Linked DNA regions of Homo sapiens: regions 1, 2 and 4 are each linked to region 3. Evidence: promoter capture Hi-C in 16 types of primary human blood cells and fetal thymus (Javierre and others, 2016). All regions are on one chromosome and are shown on one strand. The core of a region is centred on a gene start or on the middle of the fragment in contact, and the rest is flanking DNA. Distances in the headings are between cores, read along the strand shown. Region 1 overlaps CPA6 (carboxypeptidase A6). Region 2 holds the start of CPA6 (carboxypeptidase A6). Region 3 holds the start of ARFGEF1 (ARF guanine nucleotide exchange factor 1). Region 4 overlaps CPA6 (carboxypeptidase A6).

What was found. Contacts are between HindIII fragments. The CHiCAGO score rates a contact against its expected background, and 5 or more counts as called.
Region 1: a fragment that was not itself captured here is called in contact with the fragment with the promoter of ARFGEF1 in region 3 in 1 of 17 cell types (M1 macrophages); the score reaches 6.1 in M1 macrophages.
Region 2: a fragment that was not itself captured here is called in contact with the fragment with the promoter of ARFGEF1 in region 3 in 1 of 17 cell types (fetal thymus); the score reaches 5.0 in fetal thymus.
Region 4: a fragment that was not itself captured here is called in contact with the fragment with the promoter of ARFGEF1 in region 3 in 1 of 17 cell types (M1 macrophages); the score reaches 5.2 in M1 macrophages.

What each region holds. Positions count from the first base shown.
Region 1 is chr8:67,602,473-67,605,399 of GRCh38, forward strand. The region is part of intron 2 of CPA6 (carboxypeptidase A6); the gene reads right to left. The region is part of intron 2 of LOC105375886 (a long non-coding RNA gene); the gene reads left to right. Among named protein-coding and RNA genes, the nearest start is that of CPA6, 140 kb to the right of the region's middle. The HindIII fragment of the contact is 378 bases long and covers 1,439-1,816 here.
Region 2 is chr8:67,745,691-67,748,547 of GRCh38, forward strand. CPA6 (carboxypeptidase A6) reads right to left here and starts at 670. Exons shown (of 11, transcript NM_020361.5): 1 at 324-670. The coding sequence starts at 439. RefSeq lists an enhancer at 496-996. The HindIII fragment of the contact is 820 bases long and covers 933-1,752 here.
Region 3 is chr8:67,342,346-67,345,045 of GRCh38, forward strand. ARFGEF1 (ARF guanine nucleotide exchange factor 1) reads right to left here and starts at 1,436. Exons shown (of 39, transcript NM_006421.5): 1 at 819-1,436. The coding sequence starts at 942. It overlaps ARFGEF1-DT (ARFGEF1 divergent transcript), which reads left to right and starts at 1,489. Exons shown (of 5, transcript NR_136224.1): 1 at 1,489-1,957. RefSeq lists an enhancer at 450-1,130 and silencers at 1,057-1,286, 1,467-1,726. The HindIII fragment of the contact is 1,332 bases long and covers 835-2,166 here.
Region 4 is chr8:67,689,956-67,692,728 of GRCh38, forward strand. The region is part of intron 1 of CPA6 (carboxypeptidase A6); the gene reads right to left. Among named protein-coding and RNA genes, the nearest start is that of CPA6, 55 kb to the right of the region's middle. The HindIII fragment of the contact is 2,388 bases long and covers 188-2,575 here.

The DNA.
Region 1 (2,927 bases), core at 378-2,877, 260 kb after region 3:
ATATGTCAGGACACAAAGGAGTTACTCATTGGCAGAGTAACTGATGTGCTGAGAATGAAGCACCCTAAATGTTTACTTCCCTTAAAATAGAAACAAAAGCTGATGTCTACTAAAAGGCTTCCTTCCTGTCCCTCATATCTCATCAAGTCCTGCATGAAGGCATGATTTATGACAGTTCACTGCCAGATCTTAGAGAAATATAAATAAAACCAAAATTGGAACACAACTGCTGAACTTGGAGAGTTGGAATGAGGTCAGGTTAGCGCCTCGACCGGATGTCAGGAAATTATAGCTTCATTTCTGCTGCAAGAGTAGCAGTGACTCATGTTCCCCAGCAGAAACTGAGACAAAGTCCATCATAAATACCGCATGTCATTTCTGAACCTGCTTGGGAGCTGTGAGAATTAAATGAGCTAACATTTTATAAATAATTTGGAACCCCTTGATAGAAAAGTGTTACATAAGAAGAGTTTTATAATTCTGTGCTTTCTCTATCTTCCTTAAAAAGAAAAACAAAAAACAAAAAACGAACCCAAAAGCCAATGGTCTCATTATAAGCAAGAAGCTAAGTGTGACAAAAATGATTTTTGTGTGGCCATACTGAAAAGAAATAAGTTCCTATTTTTGAGGTTCAATCTGGCCTATTACTTTAAGAAAATGCTTTTGGTTCCAAAGGTCATTTTGTTTTTAGGAATAATCCTTCTATATAGTACAAGAATTATATTCTTGAAATGTTTCCAAATTAAGTACAGGAGGTTACTTTCAGCTTTCAGTAACATACATGTATTCTTTACCTCCCAAGTGGAGAAGGATGCAGGGTTTGTCCCAAACTGTTTTAATTTTAACAATTTTTTTTTTTTACAAAATTCTTTGAAGTGAAACATTTAGGAATGTATTTAACTTCTCATTAAATTACAAACACATTTATTATATAAAGAGATCTGTACTTTATTATATTTCTTTCAGGGTTATGATTTTCTAAGTGGAATGAAGAATGTCATTAAAAGGAAGACAGGATCTATATGTTTAAAATGGCTAAGTGGAACTCATAGTCCCTAAAGCATGTCCATAGATTTTTGTTGAAAAAAGTTGAAGACAGTTAACTGTGGATTCTTTGAATAGTATTGGGAACCCTCAGATCTATAATCAGTGTTTACTAAGTTTTCCTTTACAATCACCTGGGGTTGTGGTAGTCCATATTTCGTAAGATAGTCTGAAAAAAGTACCCAGGCAAATTAGATTTTTCCCATCTACCTTCCTTTTGAGCCAAAACACTGAATCACTCAGTGCTAGGTTATTTCTAAAACTTCTCTTTGCTAACCCCAGATCAAACTAAAACTGCAGTTCTGCAATAGTTTGGTTTTGCTTTGCTTTTGCCTCCACTCTCTTTCATAGGTCTCTATGGTGTCATTAACACTTTTTGTCCTTCTGATTAAAAAGCTTACATCTTTTTCAAAAAAGGTTTCCTCTGTATATGAGGCATGAAAGGCAGAATTTGTATGTGGAAAGGGTGTGTGAACAGTAATTTGATTGGAAAGGGTGAAATGATGTTGAGAAAATGTCAATTGTCAATTTCAAAATATGTCAGCTGGTGATGGAGGTTGTGTGGGGTTAAGGTAAAATAGAGCTACAACTTATTAACCTTGGGTTATCCTAATCAGATTGGTTTGTTGTTCCTCAAAACACTGGAGTGAATGAGAACATGTGTTTCAGTAAGGAAACCAGAATCTGAGAACAGATTGTGTAAGAGAATAACAAAGATCTTCAAGGACTCGAAAAAATAGAAGGAACACATCTGGTTGTGGCAGTTAGCAAAAGCTTTCTGATGAGCTAGTGTCCGAGACTGGCCCTTCTGCCTGGTAAAGAAGGAAGCGGTGGTTATTCCCAAAGATGTGGCAATAACAGCTCACCCTCGCCTCCTTCAGACCTTTGCTCAAATGCCACATTTTTAATGATGTCTTCTTCCCTGACCGGTCATTCCATTTAAAATTACATTGCGTCCCTTACCTTTTTCCCTGCTTTACGTTTCCCTACAACCATGACCATCTGATATACCATATTTTTTACTTATTTGTTTTTTGTTAATCTCTCTCCACCACAATATGAAGTTTCTTGAGGACAGGGATTGTTGGTTGTGTTTCCTGCTGTATCCCTCAGCATCCAGAACAGTGCCTGGCACAGAGTCCCTTAATAAACATTTGTGGAATTTGTTTCTACATTTGTACATACAACGCTCAGAGACTGGGAAACATAGGACACGTGGAGATTAGAGAAAAATCTGTGGAGGTTCTATCAACTTTGCGTTTTGTTTGTTTGTTTTTTGAGATTGAGTTTCATTCTTTTTACCCGGGCTGGAGTGCAATGGTGCGGTCTCAGCTCACTGCAACCTCCACCTCCCGGGTTCAAGCGATTTTCCCGCCTCAGCCTCCCAAGTAGCTGGGACTACAGGCACCTGTCACCATGCCTAATTTTTTTTTGTATTTTTAGTAGAGATGGGGTTTCACCATGTTGGCCAGGCTGCTCTTGATCTCCTGACCTCAGGTGATCCACATGCCTTGGCCTCCAAAACTGTTGGGATTACAGCCATGAGCCACTGTGCCCAGCCACGTTTTTTTTTTTTTCTTTTTCTTTTTTTGCTCTGGATGACCTAATAACTCTCTCTGAGCTCCTTGTCTGAAGTCCAGTTTCTACTCATGGTTGTGTCCTCACAATACCATGTGTGATTCATCCAATGCCCAACATAGAGTATTCCATTTAGATCTGTTTGTGGAATGAGTATGCTTGTTAAGTTCTCAGTCTGTGTTAGATTTTCTAAAATATAAACTACATTCATCCCTTGGTATTGAATGGGGATTAATTGGTTCTAGGGCCCCCATGGATACCAAAATTTGCAGATGCTCAAGTTCCTGATATAAAATGCCCTGGTA
Region 2 (2,857 bases), core at 93-2,592, 400 kb after region 3:
GCATCCCCAAGCATCAACCAAGGCAAACACTGTAAATACTGACCATGGCTACTCCAAAGACAGAATCCCATTCAACCCTGGGTCCACAGCTAAGGTTGGCACATGATAAAAAGTATAAAAAGCCAGGTTGGAGCCCACCACATTCTCTCAGTGAGCTAAAGCCAAGAGCAGAGAGCTGTGAGTACATTTTATATAGAGGACCGTGAAAGTGTGCAGATTCACTCAGAGACCCCCAAATCAGAAAAAGTGAGGCACACTCTGGAGCAAACCAGCCCCCAGATCCAAATCAAAGCTGTGTAGGGCATGAATGTCGCTCCACTTACCCAGCATAGCGGTTGTTATAAAGGTGGCTGTGCCCCGGTTGCAGAATCTTCAAAAAGAGCCAGCAAAGAGGCAGGAAAGCAGCTGCCTGGCCCCTGCGCTTCCCGAGACACTTCATAGTGTTAAGAAGAGAGGAGTTGAAAGTTACTTAAGCAGCCACCCGAGGCTGGAGGTGGCTCACAGCACCCTCTACACACCGCACAGGTTCTCCGGGAAGGGGGTGGGCGAGGAAGGTTGAGAGTGAGCAAAATGTGACACTTCTCTCCAGCTACAAGGGAAAAAAAAAGTTCAGGCAGCTGAGGAAGGGAAGTTGCTATTACGACTTGGTCTTGGGACAAGCAGCAGCAGCAGCAGCAGCAGCTGAGCCTGATCTTTAATCAGGCTCCCCTAGAAAGGGCTGGGCCTCCCTCGTGCTGACTCACGGCAGGGGTTCACTGGGTGCTGCTTCCTTTGGGTGACTCCTCTCTGCTTTTGGTTTGTTTGCTTTCCCAACTTGAGGCCTCTAACTTTTCTGTGCAAGCTTTCTTTCTCTATCTTCTTCAGCATGAGGATCCTACCTAATTGCAAATGATTTGTCTGATGGGCTAAACAAGCAGACATGGATTATTCCAAGCTTAATGTTTTTTTGATCTCCCATGACAGATTCCTAAACGGATTCCACCTAATGAAATGCACAATGAACAATCATGATGAGAACGTGCACGGGGGTACCTATAGCACCCAGATCCGAACAGCTGGCTTCAGTTCACTGCTCCTGACTTACAGGAGTGGTCAGTGGCTTTATTGGGCTTCAGGGAGATCTTGGTACTCATTCTGCATCAGCAGCACCCAGACCTGCTGCTGTTTCAGAGGTTCTCGTGGGGAATAGGAGGCCTTCGAGTGCTTTGCCACCTTGGCTGTACATTTGGAATCATTTAGGGAGCCAGACCTTGAAAATAGAAACCGTGGTGGTGGGATCAGTGGTTTAAAAAGCTCCTTAGGTGATTCCAATATTCAACCACCATGCTGGTCTGGAGCAGGGCTTCTCAGAGCTCCACATGCATAGAAGTCACCTGGGGATCTCATTAAACTGCAGCTCTGACGTAGGTTGGAACAGGGGCCTAAGAGTTTTTATTTTTCTTTTTTGAGACAGAGTTTCGCTCTTGTTGCCCAGGCTGGATGGAGTGCCAAGTCCCCATCTCGGCTCACTGCAACCTCCGCCTCCCAGGTTCAAGCGATTCTCCTGCCTCAGCCTCCTGAGTAGCTCGGATTACAGGTGCCTACCACCACGCCCAGCTAATTTTTGTATTTTTAGTAGAGACGAGGTTTCCCCATGTCGGTCAGGCTGGTCTTGAACTCGTGACCTCAGGCAATCTGCTTGTCTCGGCCTTGCGAAGTGCTGGGATTACAGGTGTGAGCCACCACGCCTGGCCGAGTCTGCATTTCTAAAGAAGCTTCCAGGTGATGCTGGTGCCACTGGCTCTTCAGCCACACTTGGAGTAGCAAGACTTCACTTTAGAATGAGGTCTGCTTTTTCTTCCAAGCAAACCTTGGAGAAAACCATTTCCTTCTCTTTTTTCCCATGTTGATGATGAAAGCTTTTTAAAATTATTATTTGCATCCACTTGCTCCTATTCCAATACGCCACAAAACCCATTACAGGGGATGTGCCTCGCCCTATTAAATAAGCATAGGCACCTAGGGTGCCTCCTGTTACCTTTCATGCCCAGTCCTGGTTGTGCTCTAAAACAGAGAGTGAGCCACTATTTCCTCATCACACTCACAAAACTTTTCAGGCTTCCTGGAGAGTCATAGCCAAGAACTCCTGTACCCTCTAATACTATAGCCAGAGTCCCTGTTAGAAGAGAGAGCACCCAATCTTTCCCATCTTCTCTACCTGGGGAGTTGAACCAAAACTCCTTTGACAGATTCAATGTCAGGTTCATGAAACAGCTGAAATGGTTTTCATTTGAAATGATGCTCTGAATTTTTCTGCAACTTTCTCAGCATCAGTTTGGTTAATGCCTCCTCTGTGTCCCTCACAAATCCTGGCATGTCCTCTACTGTAGGAATTACCACATCAAATTTCTTGTCTGGTTTCCTCATGAGGCTGCTTTCTCCTTGAATACAGAACTGTATCCTTTTGGTCTTCCTGTGCACTTCCTTATACCTCCTCGAGGGAATACAATGTTTCCTGAAGGAGTGATCAACGATGTCTGTTGGATGAACGATGAACCAGGGAAGAAATTCATTTAACAAACATTAACATAGATGCTTCTGTGTCCAGATAGAGGAGAGAGCACCTTGGGAGCAGAGAACACTATGGGTGCTTTTGGAGAGTGGAAGTTCCCCGGGTGATCATGTCTGGTTTCGTTTCTTTTTTATGTTGCCTTCTTTCCTGACTTCCTGGCCTTGTACTTTTGTCTTCCTAAACTGGTCAGGCTGCTCTGCAAGACTCACAGCAGTACTCACAGGCCTTTTAGATGAGCCCAGGAAAGCCAATGATCTGTGGAAATAAGAGGTTACTGTGTAAATAAAACACTTCATCTCTTTGCAT
Region 3 (2,700 bases), core at 186-2,685:
AGATCTCTTCCATCTGAACTATAAATCACAATTCAAGCTTGAGAGCAGCTGCCACTGTCCAGACATGTGGCTGGTGGGTGTCATTGTCTTTTTCATTTTCCTCATTTCAAACCCTCCCTTCCCTTGTCACCTAAAGCCATTTTATCTAAAGGTTCTTTGCTTCCCTGCTTTCATGCCGCCACCCCCACCCTCACCCCTTAACCACCGGTCTTGTTCTTCCAGGTCAGCCCAGTCAGATACAATATTACTCTATGTTTTTCCTGTGGCGGAGGCGGAGAGATGTCAGAACGGGCTGCACCTCTTGCAAACCCCTTCTCAAGACTGTCAACAAGGAAACAACTTCAGCAGCCTATCTCCCCAAAGTACCTCGCCAAACGAAAAAGTTATTGTTAATTATGATACGGAACCTTTCCCACACCCAATCTTGACATACCAGCCCCACCTCAATTTCCAAGCTAATAAACAACAGCTCATCTTCTGCTTCATCACAAAGGGTGGTATCCAGTCCGCACCTCACGGACCACCAACAAAATCCTCTCACTCTCAAGTCGATCCCTCGAACCCAGGTGCCCCGCGATCCTAAGCCCTGCCGCGTTTCCCGAGCCCAGCTCACTGCCCTTCCTCCTCTACCCCGCCTCTGCCCCACATCCAGCCGAGTTCCTGTCAACTCCAGACAGGGAACAGAGGGCTCCGCGAGGGCTTCCCGAGGTCAGAGGCGCGGGCCTCGGGCAAGCCCCGGGCGACCCCACCCCCCCACAGGCGCCCCCCTCCCCGCCCCACAACAAGCACCCCATCCCCCGGGCCTCCTCCCCGCTCACCTAACGCCACCTCGCAAGCTTTGCGCAGCTGGGAGTGATGCGCCTTCTTCACTTCCTTGTCGGCCAATATCTTCTCCAGAGCCCGGGTCAGGAACATGTTCTTCGTCTTCTTCCCCTCATACATGGACGCAGAGAAGGAGGCGGCGGCTCGTCCGACCCGCGGCTCCCAGCGGCTGGAGGGGAGGAGGAGGAGAGGAAGGAAGAGAAGAGAGAAAGGAGAGGGGGTGGAGGTGGGGGATTGGAGGCGTGGAGGGCAGCGGCAGGATCAGGAAGGGGCGGGCGAGCGGGACCAGCCGCGGTGTCGGCGAAGGGCGTCGAGGTCCTCGCCGCCCCCAAGAAGCCGTACCTCGAGGGCCGCGCCCGTCGGGCCTCCGCTTCTCCCGGCCCGGGGGTCGCGTCCCGGCCGCCCCTCTCACTCGTCCCTCCGGCCCTGGTGGCGGTGAGGGAGCCCGGCCCGGGCGGCTGTCTGCCGGGAACTGAGGGACGAGGTGGCGGCGGCTCTCAGAGGCACCGCGAGAGAAGGGCTACCCTGGCTACTGTGGGGATTAGCACCCGCCGCGGCCGCGAACTGGCCCCCATCACCGCCGACCTGCCCCGGCCGCCATGTTGGGAGGAAACGACGCGTCACGCAGCGGCCGAACGGCTGCAGACGAGGAAGCGGCGGCGGCGGCGGCGGCGGCGGCGCTCCCTGCCCAGAGCTGCCGCGGCGCCGGGAGGCTGGGGGCGGAGGGCGGCGCGGGAGGAGCGGCCCGAGCCGCAGCGCTACGGCGGCCCGGCGGGGCCTCCAGCGTTCGCCTGCAGGGCGGCGTGGGGCGTGGCGGGCCTCTGGTGGCACCGCGCCCAGCACTTCGGGCTCTTGGTGGCGGCCGAGCTGCGGGACCAGAGATCCCCCCACTCGGCACCCCTGCTCCTGCCGAGTGAACAGGACTCCTGGCTACTCTGCACTGGCTTTCTAACTTTCTGATGGGGGTGCAGTCCTTTGCATTCCAGGGGTCACAGCAACACCCGCATCGCCCGTTCTCAGCCGCAGGGTCTCCGCCTGCATCACTCGACTCTAAAATTTCCTTCCCTAGTGCACGGAACTGCTGTCCAGGACTCTGCTCTCCGACTACCTCAGGGAGGATTCTGTTTTGGGAAAAGTAAGCCAAAACCTATTGATAAGGGTTCAAAAATGTTTCACTTTTTTCTCTCTCTGTCGGATAAATCGGTCAACTCTAGATTTCAGGTCCCTTCTGAATTGACTCAGTTAAGGTGAATGGTTGTGAATGAGGTCCCTTAGAGTTCTGTGTTTCTGTGCCTTTAATACTAAGATTTAGTCCAGGACATGTAAACCAGTTTAGAATGGAAAAGCTTTAAGTACAAACAGATTAACACACGTGACCATGTGTTTGCTTTAGTCTGAGTGTAGAACTCAAATTTCTGCAGTATTTAATTTCTACAGTTTCCTTCTGAGCAGAAAAAGAATACCATAAAAATATTTGCAAACATTATATATGGTGATCTAGGGTCACGTCTCCAAGTTCTAAGCTTCTGTGGCTCCACGCACACAGGTTCCCTAATGTTTACTATGCATCTGTCACTGTTCTGTTCTATTAGATTGCCTTAACTATAGGCTTGTCCTAACGTAACCATCCAAACCTAAGGAAGGAGAAACTTAAGTGACTCTGTGAACTTAGTGAAGTGACCAGATTTAGGAAGGCTAAAACCCAGAGGAAATAAAATGGAAAACTTGAAGGTGACAAATTAAAGTGGAAAAATAGATTAATTTTTTTAAACTTTATTGTCCTGAGAAACAAATCTATAAATTCATTAATTTTATTTTAGAGACTATCTCTAGATTCCTGGAAATGAAGGATTCATTATACTCTTAGATCAGATATAA
Region 4 (2,773 bases), core at 132-2,631, 350 kb after region 3:
ATAATGGCCATTCTGACTGATGTGAGATGGTATCCTCATTGTGGTTTTGATTTGCATTTCTCTGATAATGAATGATAATGAATTTTTTTATATGTTTGTTGGCTGCTTTTATGTCTTCTTTAGAGAAATGTCTGTGTATGTCTTTTGCCTACTTTTTAATAGGGTTATTTGTTTTTCTGAAGATATAAGCTTCTCATGTAGAGGAACTGTGTGTTACTCAGTTCTGTATCTTATAGGTGGTTCAATTAATGTTAATCAAATTCTATAACATTTGATCTGGCAGCTAAGTGGACTGGTCTGCATAGAATTCTCATTTTTTAGAATCAATTTTTGATATATCAGAGGTTAATATTTTTAAGATGTCGATGGCAACAGAAATAAATAATTTAGAGTTAATGAATATTAATTACTATTACAAATTAGAAGTTTAAAGATCTGTATGACTATTTCTCAGCACATCAAGTAAATTTGTTGAGAAATTTGGTTCTAGCAATCTACTTGAGATGTGTGATATTTTCAGTCACACATTCAAATCAGCACATCAGTGCTTGTTCTAAGGTATGTTATTTAAACCATAAATGCTGTGTGAAGCAATATTAGTGTTCAGAGTCAGAACTCCTGAAATTTGGACCCCTATTAAACTCTGAAAAGCAATATAAACAGCTACATCAACCAGAGAAGCTGATGTAAGACACATTAGAAGAGGAAATATTAGAAAAGAATATTAGAAGAGGAAGCATTAGAAGGAAAGTCTTATCAGCTAAAAAAAATACAAGTCAGGAAGAGTGAATCAACAGATTTTAAATTTTCAACTTCAATACATATTTAATTTTTGGCTAGATTGCAGGAAATATGTCATACTTCATATTCAAGTGTGGGATATATTTCAAGCAACAATGAAATGCCAATGAATACAAACTTAAGATAACAAATATAACTTTTCTACCAAGTTAGCATGGTACAAATTCATCTACACTAAGTTTAATGTACAAATCAGTTTTTGTATAAACACAATAATAAACAATGAGTGACTAACACCTAAATAAAAGGCATTCCCTGACGGAAAACTTTCTGTACATTAACTTGAAAATTACATTCTGGTAACTACAAGCATTTGTTACTTTTCTTTTTCCCATTCACTTAGTAATACAAAAGGAAACATTTAAAAAACAAAGAAAACGAGGAAATTCACACAAGAACCAAATATTTGTCTCTTAGCCTTCTAGAAATAACTCATATTGACTTCATACATCTGTTCAAGTAGAGTACATGCTATGGATTTATGTAAGCGCACAGCTCTACACCTGTGATCGAGGTTGGTGGTGACTATCAATATCTTTGTGTTCTTCTCCTTCCTTGGTACACTGTGGACTGTATTTTTTGGCTCCCTTAATTTAGGTGGCCATCAGTGACCAGTCTTGTCACTGGCACGTGGCTGGAAAGTGATTTATGTATCTTTCAGGCCTGTCCCCCAAAACTGCCCTTGAAATCATTTTTGCCTTTCTCTTTCCTCATTTGCTGAAGGATGCAGAGGATACACTACAAGACTGAGGCCTGAGAAGGTGGTGGGAAGACAAAATAGCCTGGATCCCTGAGTGTTTGTGGGAGCAGAGCACGCCCAGCCCCCATCACACTGTCAGGAGCAAAAAACATGCTTTTAATGCTCCTCATATATTTCTGTGACTATGTTGATTTGTGATATTTAAATTCAAGATGTAAATATCTCTGTAAAATACCTTACCAAGTTTCTTCACAGACATGTTAAAAATATATCTTATGTTTTATCTACACAGCACTTTGAAATGCTGAGTAGATTTCAGGGAATTGGCTTTTAGTAAAAATAATGAAGTAGTATATTAGTACAGGCTCATTTTAGAAGGGGGATAGTGCTTGGAAGTGTTATTTGTTTGAGACCAAAACATGAATCAATAAATTAAGACTAAACTCCAAACATTTAATTCCAACCCAGATCCTTTTCTGGTTGATAGAGAATAACTTCCTTATGAGCCATGCTGGAGTTGTTTAATTAATATGTTATCTTTTTGTCCTGGCAGTTGCCCATGCAGAGATGAAAAACAATTTTAAAGAACAAGAGATTGGGCTGGGTATGGTGGTTCAAGCCTGTAATCCCAGCACTTTGGGAGGCCGAGGCCAGCGGATCACCTGAGGTTGGGAGTTTGAGACCAGCCTGACCAACGTGGAGAAACCTCATCTCTACTAAAAATACAAAATTAGCCGGGCATGGTGGCGCATGCCTCTAATCCCAGCTACTCGGGTGGCTGAGGCAGGAGAATCGCTTGAATCCAGGAAGCAGAGGTTGCGGTGAGCCGAGATTGTACTACAGCCTGGGCAACAAGAGTGAAATCCTGTCTCAAAAAAAAAAAAAAAAAAAAAAAGAACAAGAGATTGGTAAAACTTGAGTATGAGGAAGGCATATCTCACTTGCTAAAGTGTGAACTATGTGCTGGCAGCTGCTTGAACATATAATTTTTTTCCATGAGTCTAACATAATACATTTCACCACTCTGCTATTTTATTGAAGATTCTCTGTAAAATGTTTTAATGATCAATAGTAAGCTTTTTTCCCAATTAAGATTTTTAACAGTGAAGTTTATCTTTCTTGCTATAATCTATTATGTGTAAATCATGTCTTCCTAAGCTATATTATTTCAAAAGTGTGCAGGATAAACTATTTTTCATTACAACTAGAATCACACAGAAGTGCTGCCCTTTAACTGCTGGGTTTATGAAGTGGCAACAGCAAAAATGGCCC